2 separate regions of the Homo sapiens genome follow, and region 2 is linked to region 1. The links are contacts of gene promoters, found by promoter capture Hi-C in human tissues and cell types (Jung and others, 2019). All regions are on one chromosome and are shown on one strand. Each heading gives the region's core, a stretch centred on a gene start or on the middle of the fragment in contact. The rest is flanking DNA. Distances are from core to core; before and after follow the strand shown. Region 1 holds the start of ASIC1 (acid sensing ion channel subunit 1). Region 2 overlaps BCDIN3D-AS1 (BCDIN3D antisense RNA 1).

Region 1 (4,285 bases), core at 610-3,109:
GTCCCCATCCCCCAACTGACGAGAAGGTCAAGACAGAGTGGCCAGAATGAAGGTAAAGCTCACTCCAGAGAGGGTGACAATGTCTCATACCTCAGGCTGGGTGGGGGTCGAGCTGTTCTGGACTATGCTGGGATCGGAGGCTGGGTGCCCTTAACTGGGTGCTCAGCAGCACCCTAACTCCTCTGCTGTGAGTGGCAGGTTTGGGGGTGGGGGTGGGTTAAAGGGCAGGGTTGGCTGGGCTCTATGGTGGGTCAGGGAGGCAGACATCCTGACTGGAACTCAAGCAACTCCAGGAGCAGGGCTGAGGGAGGGTGGGAGCCACCCACCTGTTGTTGAGCAGGGCCAGCAGCTCCCCAGCATGATACAGGTCATTCTTGGAGACTTGGCTAAAGCGGAACTCGTTGAGGTTGCACAGCGTGACAGCAGGGAAGGTAAGCTGAGAGGCAGCCACCTCGTCGAGCTTGGTGACATGGTGGTAGTGGAAGTAGTACTGCACACGCTCCGTGCACACACACAGCAGCACAGCCAGGGAGCCCAGGAAGCACAGGGCCCACAGTGCCCGCTTCAGAGACAGCCGCTCGTAGGAGAAGATGTGGGCCAGGCCGTGCAGTGTGGAGCTGCTGGCGAAGGCCTGGATGCTCACCGGCTGGACGCCACCCACCTCCTCCTCCTCGGCCTTCAGTTCCATCCTTGTTGAGGGGATCCTGGGGGAGGAGGGAGGGACAGTCTATCATTGTCCTGGGATGAAAGTACACATGGAGCCCCTCCACATGTGCCCATCCAGAATCCTCATCTCCAGAGGTCACCACTCCTCGGGCAGAAGACTTCCCTGCTTTGCAAGCCCAGAGGTGGCTGACCAAGGGACACATCCAGGGTTCCTCCAAATACAGAGGCACAGGGGGTCAGGTCAGGCCAAGAGAATGCTCCCCAGAGAAGCTTCCCAGGCCCGGGGAGACCCCAGATATAGTCATCCGAGGTTGAGGGGGAAGTCCTGATGCACCCATAGGCAGGCGCAGGAGTTCCCTCCAGATGTGGGGTCACTCTGGGACAAGAATATCCACCCCATCCTGGAGATGAAAACTCACCCAGATGGGCTGACCCCGGGGTAAGGAGCTCCTGTCCTGGTCACGGGTATTCCCTGGACGGGGCTGTGGTCCTAAGGGCTAAACTGGGGCCAGAAAACCCCCAGGGAGGTGGCTACATCTAGGGAGGGGCCCAGCCTGAGTCCTCACCTGCGGGTGTCTCCAGTTCTCACATAAGCGCAGGCTGTGTGTATGTTGGGAGTGGGGGGTGGCGGGCTGCCCGAGGTGGATGTATGGAGGGGGGGCGCGGTTCCCTATGACAGCGAGCTGTCCCCGCCCCGGACGCAGCCCCCCCCAGTCCAGCTTCTCGTCGCAGTCAGATCCCCAGCTCGGCCCCCGCCCCCCTCCCCAGCCACCGAGCCGCCCCAGCAGCAAGGGAAATCCAGAGGGAGGAGAGTCCCGGCTTCGGGGTACCGAGGAGCCTCGCGGCCAAAGGCAGGGGTATCGGAAACCCACCTGAGGGGGCTTCGGCAAGCCGGCAGCCGGCGGCGGGTCCTGGGGCGCTGGACCGGTGGCGGGCTCAGCGCCGAGTCGCGGAGGGGCTCATGGCCCGGGGCCGGAGCCCGCGGCCGCCGCGGCACGCCGCGCAGAGCCCTGCAGGGAGCGCCCCGCCCGGCCCCGCTCGGCTCCGATCTGTCCGCCCGCCCGCGCGCGCTGGCTCGCTGGCTCGCTCGCCTCGGCTCGGTCTGCCCGGGCTCGGCGCGGTGCGCGGTGCTCTCAGCCCTGGGATCTGCAGGGATCCATCGTCCGGCCGGGAGGCGGCGGGAGGGGAGGGGGAGGGGAGAGGGTGCGCGTGCGCGCCTACGAGTGTCTGCGAGGCTGTCTCTGGGCTGGTGTGCGCGCGGGGCCCCGGATCCGGGAGCGGGACCCAGGGCTCCCCGCGCCGCCTCGCCCCTCCTCGCGGCCGCTTTCGGCGGCGCTGCCTCTCTCCAGTCCCGGAGCCGTCTCCCTGCCTGCGAGGCCCTATGGCTTGTGTGTATGACTCTGTGTGTGGTGTGTGTGCGCGCGCGCGTGTGTGCGCGCAGGAGGGAGGGTGTCTGCCCCTAGCGTCCCTCTCCCCGCGCTGTCTCCTTCGGATCGATGCTCCTGCCTCTTGCTGCTGCTTCCTCTGGTGGCACACACGCGCGTACACACACACATACACACACACGCTCCGAGTCACACTTGACTAATTCAAGCACTTAGCCCATATGGAGACAGACACACATACCGACCAGAGTCACACCACACCATTCACAACCACACCCCCCCGCAACAGATGTCCACGTATCCCGGGGGCCTGACCCACATGGCAAGCACTCACCTGCTCTTATCCCTGCTCCCACCTGCATGTGACACATATACACGTGCACATATGTGAGCCAACACGCAGCCTTGACCACTCAGATCCCATCCTTGTAGCTTTGGGCTTGTGGGGGGCATGGTCGCAACCCCTTACTGCCAAATCTCCAAAGAAGGAGCAGAGAAAAGGAAGGAAAAATAGCCAGAGGTCAAGGGAATTTGGACAGAAGGAAGGAGGCAAAGGGAGTGAAGGGGACAGGGTGAGGAAGGGTTGGAACGGGGAGCTATGCTCAGGGATGGAGCAGAAGTCTCAGCACAGAACGCAGGCCTGGGGGCTGCTCCTGTGGCTCTCACCTTTCTCCTTCCCTGCCTCCCTCCTCTTCTCTGAGAGGCCTTGGGGAGGGGGGCCCTCCCTATCCAATTAACAGAGAAGGAGCAATCAAGGGGAAGTTGTTAATTTGCTGATGCTCATTAGGGGCTCTTAGCACAGAGGCTGTTGAGGTCTGATGGTGTCAGATGATGAGGAGGAGGGTGCGGGGGACCAGAGTTCTGTCTCTAGTGGCTCCTTCGCTCTACTTGCAGGCTGGTGCGGCTCGGGGAGAAGGATGGTGAGAGGTGTATTCCTAGGACATGGTGCCGGGCTTTAAGTTAGAAGAAAACCTGTAACGAGAAGGGGATGGCACATTGGAAAGAAGTTGGATGAGAAGTTGGGAGTAGTGGACATCTAGGAAACCAGAGAAGGGGTCTGGAGGTCCCTAGTGGGAGAGTGGACTTAAGATTGTGGAGGAGGGAGGTCGAGATCCATTTACTAGGGGACTGGACACGGAGCTGCCAAAAGGAAGGGAGGATCTTCCATTCAGGTCTTGGGGAGCTGTTCAGCGGTACCAGGCAGTGCTGGAGGGTTGCTATGCCCCCGGGCAGCCACTGGGTGGCAGCCCTCTCCCAGATACTTAGAATCAACTCGTGGGGGGCATTTGAGAGTGGGAAATCACCTGGGAGGGTCCCAGAGACCTGAGGAAGCATCAGGCAGAGTCTGATTCCTGAATTCCAAATATCCTCAGGGGGAGGGGAACACTATTTTGGAGCATCTGTAATTTCCCCACCTCCCCGCGGCTCGCAGGCTGACTGACACGTGGAGCCTCTTCAAATGGCTGCAATTGCTTCAGTCACCTGGGATGTTACTGAGGGAGCAGCGGGGGTGGAGGGAAGGTGATGAGGTGAGGTGGAGGCAGGCGAGGACTGATTGAGGCCAAGGAGCAGCCTCAGGAGGAGTCTGGGGGAAGACAGAAGGTATGAATCAGGAGAATCAGCTTCCAGACCTGGCCCTGCCATTCATTAGCATAGGCAGGCCCCTTGACCTCTCTGGACCTCGGTTTCCTCATCTGTAAGGCAGAGATAATATTTATTTCACAGGATTTTTCGAGGATTACATGAGCTAACGCATGGAAAGTGCTTAGTACATTGGCATGTACCTAGTAAATCCCAATAAGTAAATAACTATTATTAGTATTAGCATTTGGATCTAGTGGTAAAACCACCAGTGCAGCCAAACCAGGGCAGAATCTAAGGCACTGGTTCTTAACCCAGGCTGCACATTCGAATCACCTGGGGAGCTTTTAAAACTGCAATGCCAGCTGGGCGCGGTGGCTCACTCCTGTAATCCCAGCACTTTGGGAGGCAGAGGAGGGTGGATCGCCTGAGGTCAGGAGTTTGAGACCAACCTGGCCAACATGGTGAAACCCATCTCTACTAAAAATACAAAAAGTAGCTGGGCGTGGTGGCGGGCACCTGTAATCCCAGCTACTCGAGAGGCTGAGGCAGGAGAATCATTTGAACCTGGGAGGCGGAGGTTGCAGTGAGCCGAGATTGTGCTATTGCACTCTAGCCGGGGAGACAAGAGCGAAACTCCATTTCAAAAAATA
Region 2 (4,285 bases), core at 1,007-3,506, 230 kb after region 1:
TCTGCCTAATTTTTCCCTCACAGCATAGCCAAAATCTTAGAAAAGTTTTTTTGTTGTTGTTTGTGTTTTTGTTTTGTTTTTGAGACAGAGTCTCACTCTATCACCCAGGCTGGAGTGCAATGGCGCAATTGGCTCACTGCAACCTCCACCTCCCAGGCTCAAGCGATTCTCCTGCCTCAGCCTCCTGAGTAGCTGGGATTACAGGCACATGCCACCGCACACAGCTAATTTTTGTATTTTTAGTAGAGACGGGGTTTCACATGTAGGCCAGGCCGGTCTTGAATTCCTGACCTCAGGTGATCCACCCACCTCGTCCTCCCAAAGTGCTGGAATTACAGGCATGGGACACCGCGCCCAGCCAAAAAGTTTTAAACATCTCCTGTCTCCATTCCTTACTTTGTAAATTTTTCTCAATCCTTCAGAATCTGGTTTTGCCAGGTCAGGCGTGGTGGCTCACGCCTGTAATCCTAACACTTTGGAAGGCCAAGAGGGGAGGACTGCTTGAGCCCAGGAGTTCGAGAACAGCCTGGGCAATGGAGTGAGACCCCATCTCTATTTTAAATAAACAAATAAAGTCTGGTTTTATCAAAGTCTCCAATGACATGTGGCCAGAGTCAGTGGGGATGTCTCTGTCCTGATCCAACTTGACTCAGCAACATCGGGGCCAAAAAATCATCCCTTCCTATTCATGGGGAATTGGTTCCAGGACCCACAAGGATACAAAAATCAAAGGATGCTTAAGTCCCTTACATAAAATAGTATAGTATTTGCAAATGACCTAGGGGTATTCTCCTATATACTTTAAATCATCTCTAGATTACTTATAATATGTAATATCATGTAAATACTATGTAAATAGTTAACACTAAATTTTTAAAATTTTGTATTTTTATTGCTGTAGTTATTTTTTTTTCTGATCTAGTCTTCAGAGAGATGTAGTTTTTATTCTTTTATTTTTTCTGATCTGAGATTGATTGAGTGCATGGATGTGGAAGCCACCAATAAGAAGGACCGACTGTATTTGGTCTTTTTTTTTGGAAATCCCTTTCTTGGGTTCTGGTGACAGCATTCATTCAGTTTTCTTTCTCCCTCTCTGGAGACCCCCCTCTAATGTTGATGTTCCTTGGGGTTCTGTTCCTGCCTTTCTTTTCTCTCCTTGCATGATCTCCTCAACTCCATGACTTCAGTAACCACCAACGTTCTGAGGACTCACAAATCTCTTATCTATCATCCTGATTCCTCTCCTGAGCTTCAGAATTATTTATCCCACAGCCTACATCAGTGCTTCCCAACCTTTTCCATGTCAGTACACACATAGTAAATGATGGTGTTTTATATGCTGGATGATGCAATCTGGCATAACCAAGATTGCTCTCTGACTCAGGAAGCTTGTGCTGCCCTGAGAATTGTGAAGCCCATTATGCAGCACCACCGTAAACTCTTCCTGAGGCACACAGTTGGGAAGTTCTGACGAGTTGGAGAGATGTTTCTACTTGGATGCCCCCTGGGCATTTCTACGTCCTCTCCATCACCACTATCACTTTCCTAGTCCAGACCACATCATTTCTCGTTTTTCTCCTCAGGTACTACAAAAACCTTGCCTGGCCCCCCTGACTTCAGTCTTGCTCTCTCTATCCTCCTCACTGCAACCACATGGATCTAAAATGCAAATCTGATTATGCTACTCTCCTGCTTAAAACCATTCAAAGGCTACACTGCTCTTAGGATAAAGGATGATCTACCCACTGCTTACCTTTCCAGTCTCATTGTTTATCATACCCCACATGAACTCTGTACAAGTTATCTAATACTTTATATACAGAGCTTAGCATATAGATTCAATAAAAATGTTTGAATGATGAAAAGTGATGAAAAAGAGGTTCAAGGATATGAGTAGATTCATCATATCTGTGCCAGGTAGGAGGTTTCAAAGCACATATTGGCGATGCTGTCAGAATCCAAGGAACATGACTGTTCCGTACAGAATTATGTATATGTAGCAGTAAAGATCTATTCCTATATAGCAAGTGGACCAAAGATTATACAACAGCTCCTTTCTTCCTCTTACTGATCAGGAAAGACATTGAGATTGCACTCAGAGTCCATCCAACTGGAAAACAGCCAGATTACAAAAATGTTTTGAGGCCAGGCATGGTAGCTCACATCTATAATCCCAGCACTTTGGGAGGCCACAGTGGGAGGATCGCTTGATCTCAGGAGTTCAAGACCAGCCTGAGCAATACAGTGAGACCCTGTCTCTACAAAAAATGAAAAAATTAGCTGGGTATGGTGGTGCGCACTTGTAGTCCCAGCTGCTTGGTAGGGGCTCACTTGAGCCTAGAGGTCAAGGCTGCAGTGAGCTGTGATCACACCACTGCACTCCAATCTGGGTGACACAGCAAGACCCTATCTGGAAAAAAAAAAAGAAAAAATGTTTTGAGAGGCTAGTTACCAACCTGACTATCTCCTGTTGCCAGGAGTTCTAAACTAGAGTCAGCTTATCAACCAATGGCTAAATGGCTATAGTTTCAACCTCTGAGAATTGAAGATGCTCCAACATTAAATGAATGACCACACAGTATTAAAGCAGGGAACCCCATTCAAAGTACTGATGTTAGCAGTGACGAGGTGATTCTCTCTGAGAATCCATCTATCAGGCACCAGCACTACATGCATAGTTAGACAATACCACCAAACTGGTTTGTTACTAAACCAGTAGTAACAGCTTGCAGCTAACAGAGACCTAAGAGGCCTAGCCTGTTTTGTTACACAGACGACTCAAGTAAATAACAATATATGATTAGTGGTATATCATAAGAGTGAAGAACAAACTTTGGGACTTCTGTGTAATTTTTAATTTATGCAAATAATAGCACTAAGGAATGAAAGTGCCTTAAGCCTTATCAAAAGACTGAAAGGGATCTTGAAGCAATAGTAGCTACACTTCTTTCAACCCCTGTCAGTGAGGATGAAGGTTTGTGAAGCATAGAGAATCTGCCAAAATCTGAATGCTGAAATTATCAAGTGCACAATAGCCTTTAAGGAAGGAGAGAGCCAGGTACTTGCTCTGACAAATACAGATGTTCTGGCTGTTTATTAAACAAGAGTAAACATCTAAATGAAAAGTAAAATATTGGCTGGGCACAGAGGCTCACACCTGTAATCCCAGCACTTTGGGAGGCTGAAGTGGGCAGATCACTTGAGGTCAGGAGTTCAAGACCAGCCTGGACAACTTGGTGAAACCTCATTTCTACTAAAAATACAAAAATTAGCTGGGTGTGGTGGCGCACGCCTGTAATCTCAGCTACTTGGGAGGGTGAGGCAGGAGAATTGCTTGAGAATTGCAAGAGGCAAGAGAATTGCCTCTTGGAAGGCAGACCTTGCAGTGAGCCGAGATTGTGCTGCTACACTCCAGTCTGGGTGACAGAGCAAGACTCTGTCTCAAAAAAAAAAAAAAAAAAAAGGAAAGTAAATTATCATCTTGATGTTCTGTTTACTTCCAATAATTCAGTTATTTGGAAACATCCAAAAGTAGTTAGAAATGCCTGGCAGACTTTTAAGGTTTTCTACCTCAAGGCAGAATTAGGAATACAAGGCAATATTAGGAATACAACAGGTACATGGAGTTTTATTGGACTTTCAAGCCCTTTGAGGAAAGGACCATGTCTACTTTTTGTTGTAATCCCAGAACTAGCCCACTGATCCCTATTCAATGTTAGATGATTGAATAAGAATTCACAATGCTGTAGGCTTCCGAAGATGCCACTATCATCAAGAAATAAGGTGAAAAGGAGAAATGAAAACATGTCTATGAAAATATTTGCACCAGAATGTTAATAGCAGCCATATTCATCATAACCCCAACTGGAAATACCCAAATATCCATCAATTGAAGAATGGATAAACACATTGTGATATATTCATGCAATGGAATAATACTCAGCAATAAAAAAGAACAGATTACTGATACACATGGATGGATCTCAAAAACATTACTAAGCTAAAGGATACAGACACAAGTACATACTGTAAAGCTCCATATATGTGAAATACAAATGCAGACAAATCTATGGTGCTATAATTCAGGAAGTTGCCAGGGGAGGGTGGTGGTGGGTGTGGGGTGATCAACTATAAAGGGGCATGAGGGAACTTTATAGGGTGGTGGTTCAGTATCTTGTTTTGGGTGTTAATTACATAGGTGTATATTTTGAAATTCACCAAACAAAGCACCTAAGATGTGTGCATTTTATTGCACGTTAAGAATAATTTAAGGGCCGGGCATGGT

The links. The method cuts DNA at HindIII sites, captures the fragments that hold promoters and counts their contacts. A contact is called where the count stands out against the background at its distance.
Region 2: a contact is called between a fragment that was not itself captured here and the fragment with the promoter of ASIC1 in region 1, in 1 of the 25 tissues and cell types used here (IMR-90 fibroblasts).

The regions. Positions count from the first base shown.
Region 1 is chr12:50,055,170-50,059,454 of GRCh38, reverse strand. It overlaps ASIC1 (acid sensing ion channel subunit 1), which reads right to left and starts at 1,859. Exons shown (of 12, transcript NM_001095.4): 1 at 1,539-1,859; 2 at 327-704. The coding sequence starts at 688. RefSeq lists silencers at 1,657-1,826, 1,897-2,056. The HindIII fragment of the contact is 14,217 bases long and covers 71-4,285 here.
Region 2 is chr12:49,830,084-49,834,368 of GRCh38, reverse strand. All of the region lies in intron 2 of BCDIN3D-AS1 (BCDIN3D antisense RNA 1), which reads right to left. Among named protein-coding and RNA genes, the nearest start is that of BCDIN3D-AS1, 3.7 kb to the right of the region's middle. RefSeq lists an enhancer at 2,269-2,563. The HindIII fragment of the contact is 4,299 bases long and covers 107-4,285 here.